Regions from separate parts of the Homo sapiens genome. Here regions 1, 2 and 3 are each linked to region 4. The links are contacts of gene promoters, found by promoter capture Hi-C in blood cells and fetal thymus (Javierre and others, 2016). All regions are on one chromosome and are shown on one strand. Each heading gives the region's core, a stretch centred on a gene start or on the middle of the fragment in contact. The rest is flanking DNA. Distances are from core to core; before and after follow the strand shown.

The links. Contacts are between HindIII fragments. The CHiCAGO score rates a contact against its expected background, and 5 or more counts as called.
Region 1: the fragment with the promoter of RNF187 here is called in contact with the fragment with the promoter of MRPL55 in region 4 in 2 of 17 cell types (erythroblasts and naive CD8 T cells); the score reaches 6.1 in erythroblasts.
Region 2: a fragment that was not itself captured here is called in contact with the fragment with the promoter of MRPL55 in region 4 in 6 of 17 cell types (naive B cells, total CD4 T cells, activated CD4 T cells and 3 more); the score reaches 9.3 in naive B cells.
Region 3: a contact is called between a fragment that was not itself captured here and the fragment with the promoter of MRPL55 in region 4, in 3 of 17 cell types (naive B cells, total CD8 T cells and naive CD8 T cells). The highest score is 7.7, in naive B cells.

What each region holds. Positions count from the first base shown.
Region 1 is chr1:228,485,463-228,489,025 of GRCh38, forward strand. RNF187 (ring finger protein 187) reads left to right here and starts at 1,920. Exons shown (of 4, transcript NM_001010858.3): 1 at 1,920-2,416; 2 at 3,498-3,563. The coding sequence starts at 2,027. RefSeq lists enhancers at 798-1,659, 979-1,358, 1,660-2,520, 2,638-3,366, 3,367-3,563 and silencers at 1,979-2,098, 2,359-2,558. The HindIII fragment of the contact is 25,988 bases long and covers 1-3,563 here.
Region 2 is chr1:228,437,816-228,441,549 of GRCh38, forward strand. All of the region lies in intron 1 of LOC124904538 (a long non-coding RNA gene), which reads right to left. Among named protein-coding and RNA genes, the nearest start is that of H3-4, 14 kb to the left of the region's middle. RefSeq lists a silencer at 2,574-2,858. The HindIII fragment of the contact is 955 bases long and covers 1,581-2,535 here.
Region 3 is chr1:228,507,890-228,511,663 of GRCh38, forward strand. LOC105373124 (a long non-coding RNA gene) reads left to right here and starts at 158. Exons shown (of 3, transcript XR_949233.3): 1 at 158-233; 2 at 812-945; 3 at 2,002-2,243. It also overlaps the pseudogene BTNL10P. RefSeq lists an enhancer at 3,249-3,750. The HindIII fragment of the contact is 4,514 bases long and covers 1-3,774 here.
Region 4 is chr1:228,107,959-228,111,529 of GRCh38, forward strand. It overlaps MRPL55 (mitochondrial ribosomal protein L55), which reads right to left and starts at 1,341. Exons shown (of 5, transcript NM_181463.3): 1 at 1,191-1,341; 2 at 997-1,063; 3 at 277-360. The coding sequence starts at 302. RefSeq lists enhancers at 1-274, 275-988, 1,257-1,426 and a silencer at 1,697-1,786. The HindIII fragment of the contact is 15,311 bases long and covers 143-3,571 here.

The sequences.
Region 1 (3,563 bases), core at 670-3,169, 380 kb after region 4:
GTTACAATGTTCCTAATTTGGCTATTTGCCTTTAATTATAATTTTTGATATTTTCTCATTCACAAGATTAGTTCATTATGAAGTTTGCTCATTTTTTATATTTTTTACTTTTCTCTCCAGCAAGTTCCTAGTTGACTCAACAATATCAGCAAGGCTCGGCTGGAAGCCTCTAATCTTTACTACACAGAAATAACCTCGGTTTACTATTCATGTTTCCCACGGGCATCTAGTGCATTTCCAAGTCGATTTAAAAAATCTTCACAAAGACAAAAATACCTCATTAGATCCTGCGCTTGCTTGGAATACAGATTTATAAAAATTTTTTTTTGTTTTTGTTTTTTAAGACAGAGTCTCGCTCTGTCGCCAGGCTAGAGTGCAGTGGCACGATCTTGGCTCACCGCAACCTCCGACTCCCTGGTTCAAGTGATTCTCCTGCCTCAGCCTCCTGAGTAGCTGGGATTACAGGCATGCGCCACCACGCCCGGCTAATTTGTGTATTTTTAGTAGAGACGGGGTTTCACCATGAGCCAGGATGGTCTCATATCTTGACCTTGTGATCCGCTCGCCTCGGCCTCGCAAAGTGCTGGGATTAGAGACGTGAGCCACGGCGCCCGGCCCAGATTAATTTTTTAAAATGCAAAACTTGCACAATCTTATTTTAACCATGCTTGCTTGTTTTCAAAATAATTAAAAAACAAAAACACAAGATTGCTCTTCCCAAAGGCTTATTTCTTTCCTTTAAATTTATTTTTTAAAGAAAAGCTAACGGCCGGGTGTAGTGGCTCACGCCTGTAATCCCAGCACTTTGGGAGGCAGAGGCGGGTGGATTACGAGGTCAGGAGTTCGAGGCCAGCCTGGCCAACATGGTGAAACCCCGTCTGTACTAAAAATACAAAAATTAGCCGGGCGTCGTGGCAGGCGCCTGCAATACCGGCTACTCGGGGGGCTGAGGCAGGAGAATCGCTTGAACCCGGGACGCGGAGGTTGCAGTGAGCCGAGATCGCGCCACTGCACTCAAGCCTGCCTGGCAACAGAGCGAGGCTGTCTCAAAAAAGAAAGAAAAGCAAAGCAAAGCTAACAAATGCTCTTCTGTCATGCATCATCACAGAATCAATGAGAGCTCCCCCCAGCCAGGAGACAGCGGACAACCAGGGTAGCTTCCCAGGGGGCCAGAGGGAGGCTGCGCGAGAAGAGGCTCAGCGGGATGGGTCCACGCAGGGAGATCCCACGCAGGGTGGGCGTATACGAGTGTCCACGTCCGGAGGGCCGTTCAAGGGCGGGTCCCTGAAGGAAGGGTGCACGCAGGGCACGTCCACGCGGGCAGGCCCGTGCACGCAGGGCGTGCCCATGCAGGGCGGGTCCGTGCAGGATGAGAGCAGCGGAGGAGGCCCACGCAGGCCATTTCCCGCCCCGTCCCCAGCCCACGCGGGCGAGCTACCGCGGGGGTACGCGCAGCTCAGATCCTAGCAGCTTACAAAAACAACCTTTTAAAAATGGAACCTTCAAGTAAAAATAAAACTTTGTTTCCCTCTTTCGCAGGAGTTACTGAAGTAGGAAGGGACAGCCCAGTAAGATTTCAGGATACGACTTGGGCCGGTCCGCAGGCAGTAGAGTGAAGCGCGCAGCTGCCAGGACTTGCGCGGTGACGTGCGCCGCTGCCAGGACCTTGCAGGTGGAGAGCATAGTTGCCAAAATCAAGGCGGAGGAGCGCACCGCCGCTAGGATCCAGGCGGAGAAGCCCACCGCGGCCAGGACCTAAGGATGCAGTACACTGCTGCCAGGATCTTGTCTGTGGAGCGCAGCGCGGCCAGGACCTCCGGCTGCAGCACACCGCTGCCAGGATCTTATCGGCAGAGCGCTCCGCGGTCCGGACCCCGCCCCGTGCGCGTCCCCGACCCCGCCCCGTGCGCGTCCCCGGCGTTGGCGTCTTCGTCCTGTTGCTGGTCTCCGTCCGGTCGCCGGCCGTCTAGGTCTCCGGCCCTCCCCAGCCGCTCCTGCGCCCTTGCCGGCCCCGCCGCCCGCAGCCCTGGCGCTCCCTGCGGGCCCCGCCGAGGCCGCCTGCGCCCTGTGCCAGCGCGCGCCCCGGGAACCGGTGCGCGCCGACTGCGGCCACCGCTTCTGTCGGGCGTGCGTGGTGCGCTTCTGGGCCGAGGAGGACGGGCCCTTCCCGTGCCCCGAGTGCGCCGACGACTGCTGGCAGCGCGCCGTGGAGCCCGGCAGGCCCCCGCTCAGCCGCCGCCTTCTGGCGCTCGAGGAGGCGGCCGCGGCGCCCGCGCGCGACGGCCCGGCCAGCGAGGCCGCGCTGCAGCTGCTGTGCCGCGCCGACGCCGGCCCGCTCTGCGCCGCCTGCCGTATGGCTGCGGGCCCCGAGCCGCCCGAGTGGGAACCGCGCTGGAGGAAGGCGCTGCGCGGCAAGGTGCGCGCCGCGGGGTCCCGTGCCCCACCCCGGACGGTGCCCTGCGCCTCTCCGCCCCCGCCCCGGTCCCCCTGAGCCCTGGGCCCTTCCCGTCTCCACTGTTCCTGTCCCCGGATTGTCCCCGTCCCCGGATTGTCCCCCTCCCCTCACCGCCACGGGTCCCCTCTCCAGCGTGTGCTGGGCCCCTCCCTCCTGCGGCTTGCCTCCCCATATTTCCTGCGTCTCTTCGGAGTCTGGTCCCCTTCCCCGTCTTGGTGTCCCCTGCTGGGCGGTGCCTTATCTCCCCACCCCCTACCTTCTACGAAGTCCTTCCCCCACCAGCGCCCATCTTTGTGGTCCCATCACTAGCTGTGCCCTGTCTCGCCCTCATAGACCCCCTCTAGTTCCTACAGATTGACTCCTCCACTCACTCTTCCCTTGGGGGAGACATCACGCCTCTTGCCCCTCTGTATTCCACTGTGTCCACAGGCCTGGCCCACCTTCTCGTCTGCTCCCCGGGCCACCCAGCCCTCGCCTGCACCCCCTGTCCCCTCTCCCATCTTTCAGAAACCCGCTCTGAGAGTCTGGCAGCAGCGGGTCCGGGAGTCTGGAGCCTTGCCCATGGCGGGTTGGTTGTGGGACACAGAATAGGAGACAACAGCCAGCCTGGGGTCCTGCTCTTCAATACAGGGGAGGGGAAGCCAGCCAGACTGTGTCCCTGGGTGCTCCTCCTGCATTGGGGGTCCTGCCACCGGGCAGAGCGACCCCCATCCGGCTCAGGCAGGGCAGGGTGTAGGGCAGGCTGTGCAGACCTTTGGTACAGGCCGAACTCACACTGAACAGGGCCACTTACAGACACAGAACTCCTAAACCCACCTAGACAGTCCCCTTAGCCCCAGCACCCAGATCCTTCTGAATAGGTGTGAAGCCCAAGAAACCTTTTGACTGCCTGTGCGTTCCTGCCCTAGACAACCGGGCTTCGAGGTTATCTCTGGGATGGTCAGACTGTGTGCAGTCAGCTGGGGTGATGTCCCTCAGTACTGGGCTGGGTTGGGGGACCCAGAGCTTCTGCCCACCCCTGGTGACCTTCTTTTCTTTACAGGAGAACAAGGGGTCTGTGGAAATCATGAGAAAGGACTTGAATGACGCCCGGGACCTGCATGGCCAG
Region 2 (3,734 bases), core at 808-3,307, 330 kb after region 4:
TCAAGGAGTTTTATAGCCAGTGAATAGAAGAAAGTTCCTTTTAGGATAGTTGGGATAATAAAATAATGTCAGCTTTTTATTGTAGACTTCTAAATATCTCTAGTGTACTAAATCAGGGACTTGGATTCCCACATTAGCCAGGATTTAGGGGTGAACTGCCAACAAACAACCCCACAACCGCAAATTGGCCTTTCCTGCCTGTGGGTCTGTGAGTGGCTACAGGGCCCCCAAATGAAAGGGGGGTGCTCAGGTGCAATTAGTGCACCTCTCATTTGGGGATTCTTAGTTTAAGAGTGAGGGAATGCTATTCATCCCATTGAAAGAGGTGGGGAGTCAGCATTAGCTGGACCATATTAAATCTAAAACAGCCCAAATCCTTGTCATAATAATTCATTATTCTTCATTCCACACTCAACGTACATTGCTCTTGAAAGATAGGAGAATATCCTCCCCAAAGGATACCACCCCCTCCCCAAAGGATGCCACACCCTCCCCAAAGGATGCCACCCCTCCACAAAACAATGCCACACCCTCTCCAAAGGATGCCACCCCTCCCCAAAGGATGCCATACCCTCCCCCAAACGATGCCACACCCTCTCCAAAGGATGCCATACCCTCTTCAAAGGATGCCACCCCTCTTCAAATGACACCACTCCCTCCCCAGATGATGCCACACCCTCTCTGAAGGGTGCCACCACCTCTCCAAAGGATACCACACCCTCTCCAAAGGATGCCACCCCCTCTCCAAAGGATGCCACACCCTCCCCAAAGGATGCCACACCCTCCCCAAAGGATGCCACTCCTCTCCAAAGGATGCCACACCCTCCCCAAAGGATGCCACCCCTCCCCAAAGGGTGCCGTGCCCTCCCCAAAGGTTGCCACCTCTCTCCAAAGGATGCCACACACTTTCCAAAGGATGTCATACCCTCTCCAAAGGATGCCAGCCCTTCCCAAATGATGCCACCCCTCCCCCAAAGATGCCACACCCTCTTCAAAGGGTGCCACCCCTCCCCAAACAATGCCACCCCCTCCCCAAAGGATGCCAACTCTCCCCAAACAATGCCACCTCTCCTCAAAAATGCCACACCTTCTCCAAAGGATGCCACCCTTCCTCAAACGATGCTATCCCCTCCCCAAAGGATGCCAGCCCTCCTCAAACGATGCTACCCCCCTCCAAAGGATGCCACCCCTCCCCAAATGATGCCACCCAAAGGATGCCCCCTCCTCTCCAAAGGGTGCCATTCCCTCCCCAAATGATGCCACCGACTCTCCAAAGGATGGCACCTCCTCTGTAGAGTGTGCTATCCCCTCCCGAAAGGATGCCACCCCCTCCAAAGGATGCCACCCCTTCCAAAATGATGCCACACCCTCTCCAAAGGATGCCACCCCCTCCTTAAACAATGCCACCCCTCCCCAAAGGATACCACCCTCTCTCCAAAGGAAGCCACCCATCTCTAAAAGGTGCCACCCCCTCCTCAAGGGATGCCACCTCTTCCCCAAAGGATGCCACTTTGGCACAAGGATTATTTGGAGCTGAAGGCCAATAATAATCCATTGTTGAGAAACAACGGATGTAAAAAAGCTTTCTGCTTGCCCCTATTTTCCTAAAAGCAGGACAAAATGGACAAAGTTGTCTTTGCCTCTCCACCAGGAAGGAATCAATTTAATCATGTGAGATGATTTTAGATGCTTATCAGCCAGGAGACAGCACCAGTGAAATCTACATGCCAGGCCTTAACTCGCCGGCCCTCTCCACCACTGCTTCTCATAACTCCCCTCCTCCACATCTTTCACTGTTCGCCTTAGCTGAAGGCACTACACAGGCCGGAGTTCTCTAGCTGAACTAAGGAAAAGTCCTGCAGCAACAGTATTTGTTAGAATGTTGGGGTGCTCAGGCCTCCAAAACAGAACCTATCTCTCCGACCTTCTCCCACCCTCCTTTTACCTACTCGTTTTGCTCCCCAGGCAGGCCACAGAAATGAAAACTGTAGTCTTTCCCCACCTTTCTGTCTCGGACCTGGCCATAAGGACATTTTCTGACTTCCCTTTTCTGATTGTGGGTCATAAGACTCCCAGTTCAGAGAGGGTCCTGCCCCATACCCAGGAGGAAGGATGCTGCCCAGAGAGGCCAAGAAGAGTCTGAACACATGGGCTCTGCTGGGGTTCCCCGCTCAGTCTGTTGGGGTTACATCCACACTTTCTGTCCGGTCACATTTCTACATGGCTGTCTTCTATCATGTCCATCCAATGAAGTCTCCATAAAAGGCCCAAGGGGACAGGTTTTGGGGGCTTCTGGAGGGCTGAACTCGTGGGGGCTTGCAGGAAGGGTGAGGGAGAATTCATTTGCAGGCTGGGAGGGTGGCGCAGCCCAACTCCGCTGGGTCAGAAGGCCCTGCGCTTGGACCTTTGCAGAACTCTCCCTCTGCATTCCTTCATCTGGCTATTTATTTGTAGCCTTAAACTATTCTTTAAATAAACAGGTAAATGTAAGTAAGTGTTTCTCTAGTTTTATGAGCTGCTCTAACAAATTAATCAAGCTTAAAGAGGGAGTCGAGGGAACTCCAAGTTACAGCTGGTCAGAAGTTCTGGAGGCTTGGACTTGCCCATGGTGTCTGAAGTAGAGGCAGCCTCGGGGACTGAGCCCTCAACCTATAGGATCTGATGCAATCTCCAGGTAGATACTGTCAGAATTTGTTTATTTATTTAGTTTTTTTATTGTTATGATTATTTGAGATGGGGTCTTGCTCTGTTGCCGAGGCTGGAATGCAGTGGTGAGACCCTAGCTCACTGCAGCCTGGAACTCCTGGGCTCAAGCAATCCTACTTCAGTCTCCTGAGCAGCTGGGACTACAGGCATGCACCATCGTGCTCAGCTACTTATTTCATTCTTGTAGAGACAGAGTCTTGCTATGTTGCCCAGACTGGTCTCCAGTTCCTGGGCTCAAGCAATTCCCTCCCACCTCTGCCTCCCAACGCTGGGATTACCAAGGCATGAGCCACTGTGCCTGGCTGAAGTCGGAATTAAATTGGGTTCAAGGACACCTAACTGGTGCCCACTAAAACATTGGTTGCTTGCTTGCTTGCTGATAGGGAGAAATCCTCACATGTTTGGTCACAGATGTCTTCTGTGTTCATTGTTGTGTTGTGAGATCAGAGGAAAAACAGTTGTTTTTTTTCTACATCAGAGGACACAAATATTCAGACCATAGCAGCTGTGGCAGGAATTTGCTGTTCTATTCCAGCCAACACCTGAAGACTGGTCCAGGCTCTTCCTTTCCTAGAGCATTTACTGAAACCAGCTCACAACTGGGAATGCTTCCTTTGGCGTGTTGAGATGTCCATGTGTCTCCTACAATCTAGCAGTGGCTCCTCGAGGAACCCAGAGCCATTCCTTTGAAACCAGGAGGGAGAAGGCCTTAGTCTCTGCCAGAAGGTAGAATCCTGACTTTGGGCCTGGCTGACTAGCAGACACAGATGGTCTCATCTGATTGGCACGGAGCCCCCGCTCACCCCATCTCCTTCCCTTTAAGACACCCCGCCACCCCTACACAAATTACAATGGAGGCGACTCTGTACTGACTGCAGCTGGCACTGAATGGAAATCTGTTTTCACTGCTTTAATGTCCAGCTTTATCTTTGCGTTAACTGAAAAAATCACAGGATCTATAAATTGGAAAAGCAGATTTCACTTCTTGTAGAGGGTTACAGCCTGCAAAGTGGCCATCCCTCGGGCAG
Region 3 (3,774 bases), core at 695-3,194, 400 kb after region 4:
ATTTTTTTGTAGAGATGGGGTCTTGCTATATTGCCCAGGGTGTCCTCAAACTCCTGGCCTCAAGCAATTTTCCCGCCTCAGCCTCCCAAAATGCTGGATGACAGCTGCAAGCCACCACAAGCAACTCTGTCATAATGCAGTCTTTATAACCAGCTGAGCACAATCTCTACTCTCAAAATAGGGCTCTGAAGTCTAGGAACAAGTCCTCAGCTCCTGAAATGACAGAGGAGGAAGTGAGTGAAGTGAATGAATGAAGGACACAGTCAATATTGAGAATAATCACAGTGATTGCAACTGTAAACCCTCCCTGACGCGGCCTTGCTCTGAATGCTACTCTGTTGGTCTTTCAGGATGGTATCAGCACTCCCAGCAGACAGAGTGGCTCAGGGCTCACACCAGGTCCCTCAGCCCACACCCATCAGACTTGGGGTTCAAACTCAGATCTGTCTGTTTTCAAGACAGAGCCCAACCAGCCTGCCTGAAATCAGCCAGTGAAGACTTAATTGAGGGATTGCTAGGAGACAGATGGTCTCACTGGGTAGATCATAATCAGGCAATGCCAGAGGGAGGATCCCCACTGGCCACCCCATTCCTACTGTGTCTGAGGACACATGGACGAAGCCTCAGCTCAGGGCTTCGTGTTAGGGTCCTGGATTTGGGGTGGGGGGGCAGGATGTGCCTTGTCGGGGCTCCCTGCTCACCACGCCATGGCTCAGCCTTGTCGCTGCTGGTGGGCCGCCTCTGCTCCTTTTCTCTTCACTCCCTCTCTTCTTCCAGTGATGCTTTGTTCTTTTCCCTTTGACGTTTCCAGAAGATGCAGATGCCTCCAGCTATTACGAGTCCCATGGCAACAAGGATCAGAGGCAGAGCTGCTTTCCATGCCGTGAACTGGGAGCTTCTGGAGAAGGTAGCTGGAGAAGATTCCCAGAAGCCAGGAATATTGGGGTAAGAGAGTTTCTGTGTTCTGAGGTCAAACTTGCTAAAGAGTTCAGTAGTCCAGGGACATAATATTTGCAAATTACTGTGAAATAGTTTCCAAAATAGTATGTATTTGCACAGCTGGTCTATGGACCGAATGTCTGTGTCCCCCAAAGGGGTTGAAATCCCAACCCCTACGGTGATGATGTTAGGAGGTGAGGCCTTTGGGAAGTGATGAGGTCATGAGGGTGGAGCCCCTGTAACGGATATGATGGGAATGGTGCCCTTATAAAGGGGAGAGCCCAGAGAGCTCCCTCACCCCTTCCACCATGTGAGGACACAGTGAGAAGGCGCTGTCTATGAACCAGGAAGTGCCCTTGCCAGACACCAAATCTGCCACGCCTTGATCTTGGACTTCCCAGCTTACAAAACTGTGGGCAATAGCTATCTCTTGTTTCTAAGCCACCTGGTCTGTGGTATTTTGTTATAGGCACACAAATGGAGTAAGACAGTTGGGTTTAGACATATGCATAGGAAGTAGATATTAGATATCTATTTGTAGATAGACAAAGGGAGAAGTGATAAAAAGAAATATCGCAATAAGGTAAAAATATGGTGAATCTGAGTAAAGGGTGCACAGACAACTTTTCTATTAATCTTGCAAAGTTTCTGTAAGTTTGACATCATTTAGAAAAGTAAAAGTGAAAGTTTTTGTGAAAAGCTAAATTTGGAAACAACCAAGATATTTTTTAGTAGGTGAATGGATCAATAAACAGTGGTCCATCCAGATCCTGGAACGTTATTCATTTCACAAAAGAAACAAGTTATCAAGGCAGGAAAAGACATGGAGGAAACCTAAATGCGTACCACAAAGTGAGGGAAGTCAAAGTGAAGGGGCTACAGAGGCACCGTCCCAACTACAGGACATTCCAGAACACCTGGAAACTATGGAGACAGTGAAAACATCAGTGGTGGCCAGGAGTTAGGGGAGATGAATGAATGAGCGGAGCACGGAGGATTAAGGGCAGTGACATTATTTTGTATGATACTATGACAGATATGTGGCATTATATATTTATCTAGAACCATGGGACACCATGCCAAGAGTGAGCCCTCATGAAAACTGCACTCTGGGTGCTGACGGCATTGTCAACGGAAGTTCATCAAACATGGTGGACGTTCCTTCTGGTGTAGGGTTTTTATGCTGGGGGAAGGTGTGTGAGGGGGTTAGGGGAAGATGGGAACTCTCTGGACTTTCTACTAAAATTTGTTGTGACCCTAAAACTGCTTTAAAAAATAAAGCCTATTTTAAAAAACCCTAAAAACTGTTGATATTAGGATGTACATTTCTTGTTCCCCCAAAGGCAAGGCTCTCCCCAGGGTCCCTGCACCCTTATCTCTGTTCCTCTTCAGTAATCAGCACCCAAACAGTGCACCTCCTGGGATGCCCCAGCCATGTGAGGACAGGGACCTGCCACCCATCCCTGCTTGCCACAAACCCCACAGCTGTCTCTTAATGTCCCCAGTGTCCAGGGCCACGGAATCCTGTGCTCAGTGATTGTGAGGACAGAACTGAATAGAGGACTCACCGGGCAGGTGGCTCTCAGCCACCTTCCTCCTTTCAGGGAGGAGGGGGCTGGAGATGGAGCAGGAGAGACCCTCCACAGCCCTGTCCCAGAGCGTCAAGCTGGATGCCACAGCCCAGAGCCTGGTGGTGGCTGAGGCTGATAGATTGGTCACAGCAGGCCTAGCCTGGCCCCTGAAGTCTCTCCGTTCCACCCAGGACTTGGGGAAACAGCCTGCTGATGTGCACTCCGCCCTGACTCCATCCTGCTGGTCTGTCACCTGGATTCTGGGCTCTCTGCCCAGCCCTGAAGGAAGAGACAGCAGCTTGAATCTTTGCAGCCATGGCTGCTTCTATTTAAAGGAAAAACAAAATCTTGAGGATTTCCAATGTATTTTGGCAATTTCACAAACTGCCTACCCTGTGTTACACACCATCCCTAACAGAGTTCCCCATTTCCCAGACAAAAGAAGGGAAGCAAAGTGGAAAAGGTCCAGGAAGATTGAATAGGCATCCTGTGTTGCAGAAGTAGAATTCATGGCACAAGATGGGACCCAGGCTTGTCTGTTTCGAAGCACAAGTTCTGAGTCACTCGGGAAACCTCCCGTATCTGAAGACTCTCTTCTCTCTCTTGGCCTTTCTGTCTCCTGTCATTATTTCTCTGTCTCTCTCTTCCTCCCACTCTCTGTTGCTTACTGTCTTTCTCATTTTCTTTTACTGTCTCTCTGTCTCTGTCTCTATCTCCCTCTCTCTGTCACTGACTCTGTCTCTTTGTCTCTTTCATTCTCTCTGTGTTTCTCTCAGTTTCTCATTCTCTCTGTCTCTCTCCATCTCTGTCTCTCCTGTCTTTCATTCTCTGTCTCTGCCTGTCCCTCCCTCTCCATCTCTCTCTTTCCCCATCTCTATAATTCTGTCATTCTTTCTTCATCTCTCTCTGTCTTTCTCTCATCTCTCTGTCTTTCTCTCCATCTCTCTTTCCACCTCTGTCTGTCTCTCCCTGCTTCTTTCTCATTCTATCTCTTCTTCTCTGTGTCTCTCTCATTCCCCCCATCTCTCTCTTTCCCTTCCCTTCACTTTCCAGTCCACTGGTGTAAGGAGGGAAAGGAAGATGAGGAAGGTGGCTCTGCCTTCACCGCTGTGCTTCCCGGGAGCAGTGCAGGCCAGCACGGCAGCTGGGAGAGTGCACTCTCACCCTACTGAAAAGCCCTCCACCTGAACACGCTGGGCCCCAAGGCCATGCCTGGAAGTAGACTGACAGCCAGCTAGCCACCAGCCTTACCTGCCACCTGCAC
Region 4 (3,571 bases), core at 91-2,590:
GGCCACAGGAGACATTACCAGAGCTGGTGACCCGTGCCGGGGCAGGATGAGCCTCGGGGCTTCCTCAGGAGCCACAGGCTGTGGTCAGAGGCGTTCTGGCCCCCTAGCCAGGAAGAGGCTGCCAGGCTGAGCAAGGGCACAAAGCTTCCAGCACAGGGGACAGTGGACAATAGCAAGGACTAGGGAGGATTAGAATGGCGGTTTCCTGCTGAAGAGAGGGGTTCCCTGGGGTGGCCCCTGACAGTAATCCCCAGGGACCTAAAAGTCCATGCTTACCCAAGCAGGCTGCCCACGGCCGCCATTCCTCCTTACAGCCCCAGTGGCACGTGGAGGTGGTCAGTACAGGCCCTGGCGTGCAACCTGCTAGGCAGAGAATGAAGAGATCTTTTTTAAAAGGAAGGTTCTTCCACCTAATGGTTTCTTATCAAATCCCAGCCCAGGATGCTTCCAAGACACATGTAATCACCACGCCACTCACCAACCTCTCCCAGCAACCCTTGGACTTCTCAGAACCGCCTGTAGAGGTTTTTCCAAAAGCAGAAGTTGGTCACTACTCCCAAAGATTCTGAGTCAGCCTGCGGCAGGGCCCAGGCTGTCTGTTCTGGCCGTTACCGAGTCTGCGAAACCTCTCTGAATGGACTGCAGCCTCAAAAGTGGAGCTGAGGTCATGCCTTGCTTTCTAAGGTCATTGCTAGTTTTAATAAAAACTCAGTGAAGTGAGGATTGTCATGCTTGCTTAAAGGAGAATGGAGGCCCAGGGCTGCTTTGCTGTGACCTGGATTCCCATGGGAGTCTGTGCTGAGGTGTGCGAAGTAAAAGCCCAGTTTTCAATACTCAGATTCCAGGAGATGAGGCTGCACAGAGGCCGAGCGCCCAGCTTCCTCTGGCGTACCCCTGTCTCTCACCAAGGAAGGGACCTGAAGACAGGTCCGGCTGCCTCTAAAATGGAAATCCTGCTACGTGTCCTATGCCCACATCCCTCTCCCTCGGCCTCACCAGCACAGGAGCCTGGGGCTGGTCCAGGAGGGTCTTCGGGGAAAGCTCCCTCTCCTTTCCTGCTAGACTGCATGGGGACAAGGGCTTATCACAGGTGCAGCCCCCTGTCCCCTTCCCTGCCTCCCTCCCTCCCGACTCCACCGGGAGGGTACAGCGCCTCCCGCCTCTGTTCCCGGCCCACACGAGGCGCCAACCTGCGGCCGCCACAGTCGCTGCGGAGGGGTCTGAGGACAGGCGGTCCTGACTCCCGCTGCCCGGTGGAACTAAGACCAGGGACGAGGCCACGCAGGAGATCAAGGTACTCACTGCGTTGGGTGCTGCTGCGCTGCAGCCCACGACGTCACTGGCAGGCGCTGCGTCGCGCGGTATGACGTGTTCCATGGCAGGGAGAGGCAAGAGTGGGCGGTGAGACACGAAGATATACGCCCCTGTTGGGCGGGGCCGGCGCGGCGTGATGTAATCTCGGGGGCGGGACGAAGCCTAGGTGGGCGGGGCCTGCGGGGGCGCTGTGGCGGTACAAGAACCCAGGCGGGGCCGGCGAGCAGGTGACCTCCGTCCCTACCGGGAGGACCAGGGCGGGCCGGCGAGGTCGAGGGGGACCCGCGGGTCTGAGGGAGGACGGAGTGGGGGAGTGCTGAGGGAGGACCCGGGGTGGGGAGCTGAGGGAGGATCCGCAGGGCTGAGGGAGGATCCAGGAGAGCTGATAGAGGTCCCGGAGGGCTGAGGGAGGACCCAGGGGTCCTGAGGGAGGACGCAGGGGGCTGAGGGAAGACGCAGGGGGGCTGAGGGAGGATCCTCGGAGCTGAAGGGGCATCAGCTGGGCTGAGGGAGGACCCAGGGGGACTGCGGGAGCACCCGGGCGGGGGCTGAGGGAAGGAGGATCCGCGGGGCTGAGTGGGCACCAGCTGGGCTGAGGGAGGATCCAGGGGGAGCTGCGGAAGGATCTGCGGGGCTGAGAGAGGATCTAGAAGGGGTGAGAGAGGTCCCAGGAGGCTAAGGGGGGAATCTGCAGAACTGAGGGAGGTCCCAGGGGGCAGTGAGGGAGGATCCATGGGCGCTGAGGTGGGAATCTAGGGAGGCTGAGGGAGGATCTGTGGGGATGACGGAAGTTCAAGGGGGGCTGAAGAGGCACGCAGCGGGCTGAGGAGGACCTGAGAGGCTGAAGGAGGATCCGAAAGGCTGATACAGCGGGGCTGAGGGGGGATCCGCGGGGTTGGCGGGGGCTGAGAAATGACCCTGTAGTTCACAGCAAAATGGAGTAATTTATGTCACAACGTAACCAAAATGGAGTGGGGAGGGCCCTAAGGAAGCAGCTGTCACGCATTTCTGAAATGCCAGAGAGGCTCGCTATTACCTTGTAAACAGAGCTTATTCCGGGCATTTCCACTGGCCTGCAGTATTCCAGATGAGATGTTTGGACCAGGGCAGGCAGATAGCATCGCCTATCTGCCTCAGCGAACCAGGGTCACTTTGTGCAATGAGTTCATGAGACCAGGGCCTTTGTTTTGTGAAAGTTACAAATAAGGAGTGAAATCACTTTGTCAGGCCCAGACAAACAGGGCTGGGAAGAACAGGAGGCTCAGGCTTAGTGTCTGAGATAAGAATTATTCGCAAGGACTTTCTAAAAACCCCACAAGAAACCCTTTTGTGTCATTCACGGGTCTCCTACTTTGACAAAATTTAGACCATCTTTAGGACTGCAGTAATTCAGTTAAGATGCTCGGAATAAACACTTGCCCAGTAATGGCAGCGCCACCAATGAACTGAGGACAACTTTGAGCTTTGGCGTTGGGCCCCTGGAACCAATGAACTCTTTCTAAGCAGCTTCTGTGAACCGCTCCCTTTTCGCTGATAAAAGTTCCCTTTTCACTGATAAAAAGTTCCCTTTACCCTTCCCTCACTGGGAATGCTGGTGGCTTGCTGCTGTTGATGAAAAGAGTCAAACTTTGTAAAATATTTTAAGAGATATATTCTGAGCCAAATATGAGTAACCATGGCCTGTGACACAGCCCTCAGGACAGAGGTCCTGAGAACATGTTCCCAAGGTGGTTGGGGTGCAGCTTGGTTTTATACATTTTAGGGAGGCATGAGACATCAATCAAATACATTTAAAACCTACATTGGTTTGGTTCAGAAAGGCAGGACAACTCGAAGCAGGGGTCAAGGGTGCTGGCTTCCAGCTTATAGGTAGATTGAAAAATTTTCTGTTTGACAATTGGTTGAATTTACCTGAAGACCTGGGATTAACAGAAAGGAATGTCTGGGTTAAGATAAAAGATTGTGGGTGGGGTGCAGTGGCTCACACCTGTAATCCCAGCACTTTGGGAGGCTAAGGCAGGCGGATCACGAGGTCAGGAGTTCGAGACCAGCCTGACCAACATGGTGAAACCTCCTCTCTACTAAAAATACAAAAATTAGCTGGGCGTGGTGGTGTGTGCCTGTAATCCCAGTTACTCAGGAGGCTGAGGCAGAAGAATCACTTCAGCCCAGGAGGCGGAGGTTGAAGTGAGCCGAGATTGCGCCACTGCACTCCAGCTTAGGCAATAGAGTGAGACTCCATCTAAAAAAAAAAAAA